Linked DNA regions of Homo sapiens: region 2 is linked to region 1. The links are contacts of gene promoters, found by promoter capture Hi-C in human tissues and cell types (Jung and others, 2019). All regions are on one chromosome and are shown on one strand. The core of a region is centred on a gene start or on the middle of the fragment in contact, and the rest is flanking DNA. Distances in the headings are between cores, read along the strand shown. Region 1 holds the start of CTSK (cathepsin K). Region 2 holds the start of C1orf56 (chromosome 1 open reading frame 56).

The links. The method cuts DNA at HindIII sites, captures the fragments that hold promoters and counts their contacts. A contact is called where the count stands out against the background at its distance.
Region 2: a contact is called between the fragment with the promoter of C1orf56 here and the fragment with the promoter of CTSK in region 1, in 1 of the 25 tissues and cell types used here (adrenal gland).

The regions. Positions count from the first base shown.
Region 1 is chr1:150,806,661-150,809,509 of GRCh38, forward strand. It overlaps CTSK (cathepsin K), which reads right to left and starts at 1,600. Exons shown (of 8, transcript NM_000396.4): 1 at 1,554-1,600; 2 at 26-146. The coding sequence starts at 145. The HindIII fragment of the contact is 16,762 bases long and covers 1-2,818 here.
Region 2 is chr1:151,046,301-151,049,000 of GRCh38, forward strand. C1orf56 (chromosome 1 open reading frame 56) reads left to right here and starts at 1,451. Exons shown (of 2, transcript NM_017860.5): 1 at 1,451-2,552. The coding sequence starts at 1,548. BNIPL (BCL2 interacting protein like) reads left to right here. Exons shown (of 10, transcript NM_138278.4): 10 at 351-1,420. The coding sequence ends at 387. RefSeq lists enhancers at 1,779-1,828, 2,109-2,348. The HindIII fragment of the contact is 7,874 bases long and covers 1-2,700 here.

The sequences.
Region 1 (2,849 bases), core at 350-2,849:
ATGCCCCCTCCAGGACCCCAGGCACCTTGTTGTTATATTGCTTCCTGTGGGTCTTCTTCCATAGCTCCCAGTGGGTGTCCAGTATCTCCTCAGGGTACAGAGCAAAGCTCACCACAGGTAGCAGCAGAACCTTGAGCCCCCACATCCTGCAGAAGAATGTAGTTAGGGAAAACTCTTCCATTTGGCAGGGAAACAGAGGAAAACTAGGCTTTATGAGGAAGAGAAAGGTAGACGGAAAAAGGGTGATAAAACAATGATAGTCAGGAGGGGCCTGTGTTTAGATAGGATGCTGGTACATCTGGTTCCAAGGACTTTGATCTAGGGGGATTTAGCCATTTCTCTCTTTCTCTCTCTCTCTCTCTCTCGGGAGATTTAGGCAACACACACTCTCTCTGTTTCTCTCTCTGTCTCTCTCTCTCTCACACACACACACACACACACACACACACACACACACACACACACGTACACAACCAGAAATGGGGGATAGAAACTGGACAATCAGAATGGGCTCAGTGCGTTTCCTCCAGGGTCCCTAGCAGGCTTGGAGACAGACAAATAGCAAGGTGGTAGTGGGGTTCAGAATACACAAAGGAGAGATTTCCGTCTAAGTTTTGCCTCCTGATCATTTCTTCGAGGCGTTCTTCTCTTTCGTGCCTAAATTCTGGTACTTTCCCAGATCTTGTCAGAAGAGGACAAGGGAAAATAGGACAATGTTTCCTGTTTTCTGAGACATTGTATATCTCCTCATTCTCCTTATGCATTTCTTCTTCCTTTTTCTCTCCCTTCCCTCCTTAGGCAGGAAACTGCCCTAATCTTAACCAGATGCTGCGGGCAAGGTTTTTTATTTTTCCCCTAACAACAAAAACCCACTGTGGCTGCCGCAAAGGACAAGAAGCCTCAGATCCAAGGTTTGTTAGAAGAATGTTCAGACTGAAAAGCAATGTTCTATGATGATGAAATTCACAGCTTTTCATAAGTTTACTCTAGTTAGCTTCACTCATTTCTTGCATTGGCTTTCTTAATTACAAATCCTCCATTTTAAGAACAATTTGCAGCCTGCAGCATGACATATGGCTTACACAATTGCTTATAGTCCATTTACATGTAATTTTGCAAACTGGCAAAATGTCCAGTAGGACATTTAAAAACTAGAGTGTTAAGGGCTTTGAGATGTCTCAGTGAACAGGAAGCACTGAGCTACTACCTCCCCATACCACTCTCCTCCTCCTCACTAAGGAGTTAACCGTTTTGATCCTTGTTGGCCAAAGTAGAAAACACTGCAGAAAGGCCACTCTTGAAGGATGGGGAAATGATTCCCTATATACTTTGCTTTTACTAACAATCATGTATGTATATATATAAATCATACAAGGAATTCTACAGATTTCCAGGCAGATTTTATTTAGCCAGGGAATGACCTAAGAAGTGCATCTCTGTTTTCATCTGCAGAGGCTAAAAGTTTATTGTGATCCTCAAGTCACTACATCCCTAATACTCAGAGAATTGACAGGAATGAAAAGCTAAAAGATCTAGGAAGTTGCAAACGTTACCTGCTGATGGAAATCTGTTGTCTGGCTTCGTTTCGGCAGCAAAGTGTGGGCACACCATCAGGGGTGCTAGATTTATTCCATCGGGATTGCGGAAGTCAGCTCCAGTGATCGGCTGGAAAATTTGGGTAAGAGGAGGAGGCGGGGATAGAAATGCTGAGAGAAGGAAGGGTAGGGAGGAGGGAAGGAGGCAGTGGATTTGCAGTGTTTCTGTGTGTATGCAGCATGTGTGCCAGGGTAGGGAATTACTAGCTATTTAGTCTCACAAGACTGTCTTTGGTGGCAAATAACAAGACCTCAATATCTATTGACTCAAATAGGAGCTTACTTTCTCTTTTGGTGAGTAAAAGGAAGGACACAGCCCTAGTCTCTCCCATCCTTCTTCTTCAATATCTTTATTTTAATATTGGGGGATTATATCTTTTCCTACCCCTTTCCTGTTAGGATTTACCTCTCCAACATTGAAACCTATTTTCATATTTGTGTCTGACTCTCACCTCTGGGATGCGGTAATGAACATAAAAGGCTATAAAAGAATAATGTAATGGAAGCCATAGGCTCCAGAATTCTTTGTATTTTTATAAGCTTGTTGGTTGCAAGTTGTCATTACTTCCAGGCAGAATAGTTTTCCCAGCCTAATGTGGTTTTGCTGAAGGAGGATATGCCCAGAAAGTCCAGATGAAACTGTCTTTAAAAGTAACCAAAAACAGCAGTCCTGGTTATTTATGACAGCACTTGAATCAATGCCGTAAGTTCTGATGGACTCACATGTGACTCTGTTGCTAAAACTCTCAGGTGGTGGGATGCCCGATAAACATCATCTGTCTCAATTAAAATCCCCAATCTAGGACAAGTCACATGAGCTTCTCCAAATGCTTCCCCAACATCCAAGCATGTGACAGATCATAAGAATCTAGCTGATTCCTCAAACCACACCCCAAACTTCATTTTCTTCCATAAACAGATGTGGGGAAGGAGAAAAAAAGGCTTCTTGGAATAGAAAGGATAATAAATGGGATCTGTAATAGACTCAGTTTCTAGCTGGATTCCATGCATAAACCCTCAAAAATACAGGCTTATGCCTCTGGATTTTAAGAGCTGCTAACAGGCTAGGCGCAGTGGTTCACGCCTGTAATCCCAGGCCTTTGGGAGGCCAAAGCATGTGGATCACCTAAGGTCAGGAGTTCGAGACTAGCCTGGCCAACATATAGTGAAACCCCATCTCTACTAAAAAAAAAAAACACAAAAATTAGCTGGGCATGGTGGCACACACCTGTAGTGCCAGCTACTTGGGAAGCT
Region 2 (2,700 bases), core at 201-2,700, 240 kb after region 1:
GGAAACTGCACACACCCAGAGAAGAAATGAAGGACACTACTGCATCCAACAAGAATAAATGAAAAAAAAAAAAAACCTATACATATAAGTGCAGAGGCAATAAGGAATAAAGGAATAATCACAGTGCAGAGGAGATTCAGACTGGCCCTAGAAATTAGGAAGAGATGTGTTGGCAGTGAACAGATGATATCCAGTGGGGGAGAGGGTGTTAGGGAGCAAAAGTGCTAAATGATGACTCAACCCAATCATCTAGCTCTTCCAATTCACCTGGCTTCTCTCCCCAAACCAGAAAATAAAACCCAAGTCCTACCCCCTGAACCACTTCTCTCCTCCCCCTCTCCCTCTCCTAGGCTGGACCGGGATCTCCATGGCTCAGGAGGGACATAGCACAGGACTGGATAAAAGGCCTTAGAACCAGTTAGTGATCTGCCTACACCTGAATCCCTGAAACATCTGAACTGTTTTGTAAATCATCTTATCCCCAACCTCAGTACCACCGGATCTTCACTTCTCAGTGGGATTTTGTCCTTTGCATGACCCTACTTTCAGCAGGGCTTTGAGGCTGGGAAACTGATCTGCTGGGTGACTTTCATTCCAGTTGCTGGGACGGAAGGCTGAATGTAGGGTCATTTTGTATGGGATATGCAGAGCTCTGGGTTTTTTTGTTTTTTGTTTTTTGAGACGGAGTCTCGCTCTGTCGCCAGGCTGGAGTGCAGTGGTGCGATCTCGGCTCACTGCAACCTCCGCCTCCCGGTTCAAGCCATTCTTCTGCCTCAGCCTCAGCGAGTAGCTGAGACTACCGGCGCACGCCACCACGCCCAGCTAATTGTTTTGTATTTTTAGTAGAGACGGGGTTTCACCATGTTGGCCAGGATGGTCTCGATCTCTTGACCTCGTGATCTGCCCGCCTCGGCCTCCCAAAGTGCCGAGATTACAGGTGTGAGCCACCGCGCTCGGCCAGAGCTCTGGGTTTTAATCCTACTTTAGCTGTAGAACCTTGGGCAAATAACTTCATCTTTTTGGGTCCTAATTTTCCTCCTGTCTAACTGGAGGGACTGTGATCCTTCCACCTTGGATGGAAGAGGCTTACCTGACAGCCAGCCTGCCTGCTGGGAGCCAGGAGAGTCAGCTCATTAAATCTTGAAGAACCGCTGTATGCCCTTTTTCCTTCTAAGTCATGTCTGCTGCCTGTGAGCCTGGGAAGGAGTGCTTTCAAAACCTGTATTTTTGCCCTCTTTAGTAAATTTAGAACTGTAGAGGCTAATAAACTGCGATGAGACATTTAAGCTCTGCTCCAAAGAAGTGAACGACTCTTTCACCACCCCTTGCATCCCAAACCTTCGGTTCTGGCAGAGTTCTTGCCGCAGAGGTTCCTTAGGAGCACCCCGCGCGGCCCGCGCGAGCGCGCCTGCGCGTCGAACCCCACCCCCTTCCCCGCGGGCCTCGGTTCAAACGACCCGGTGGGTCTACAGCGGAAGGGAGGGAGCGAAGGTAGGAGGCAGGGCTTGCCTCACTGGCCACCCTCCCAACCCCAAGAGCCCAGCCCCATGGTCCCCGCCGCCGGCGCGCTGCTGTGGGTCCTGCTGCTGAATCTGGGTCCCCGGGCGGCGGGGGCCCAAGGCCTGACCCAGACTCCGACCGAAATGCAGCGGGTCAGTTTACGCTTTGGGGGCCCCATGACCCGCAGCTACCGGAGCACCGCCCGGACTGGTCTTCCCCGGAAGACAAGGATAATCCTAGAGGACGAGAATGATGCCATGGCCGACGCCGACCGCCTGGCTGGACCAGCGGCTGCCGAGCTCTTGGCCGCCACGGTGTCCACCGGCTTTAGCCGGTCGTCCGCCATTAACGAGGAGGATGGGTCTTCAGAAGAGGGGGTTGTGATTAATGCCGGAAAGGATAGCACCAGCAGAGAGCTTCCCAGTGCGACTCCCAATACAGCGGGGAGTTCCAGCACGAGGTTTATAGCCAATAGTCAGGAGCCTGAAATCAGGCTGACTTCAAGCCTGCCGCGCTCCCCCGGGAGGTCTACTGAGGACCTGCCAGGCTCGCAGGCCACCCTGAGCCAGTGGTCCACACCTGGGTCTACCCCGAGCCGGTGGCCGTCACCCTCACCCACAGCCATGCCATCTCCTGAGGATCTGCGGCTGGTGCTGATGCCCTGGGGCCCGTGGCACTGCCACTGCAAGTCGGGCACCATGAGCCGGAGCCGGTCTGGGAAGCTGCACGGCCTTTCCGGGCGCCTTCGAGTTGGGGCGCTGAGCCAGCTCCGCACGGAGCACAAGCCTTGCACCTATCAACAATGTCCCTGCAACCGACTTCGGGAAGAGTGCCCCCTGGACACAAGTCTCTGTACTGACACCAACTGTGCCTCTCAGAGCACCACCAGTACCAGGACCACCACTACCCCCTTCCCCACCATCCACCTCAGAAGCAGTCCCAGCCTGCCACCCGCCAGCCCCTGCCCAGCCCTGGCTTTTTGGAAACGGGTCAGGATTGGCCTGGAGGATATTTGGAATAGCCTCTCTTCAGTGTTCACAGAGATGCAACCAGTAAGTGTTTGGTGATGAGCCAGGGTCTTTGTTGACGGATCTGAAAAGTCCTGGTATCTAAAACCCAGTTGCTAAGCCAGCCAGTGTTGCTTACATGAACTGTTACTGACTTACCTGGTTATTGATTCATAACATGCATTGGTTATTC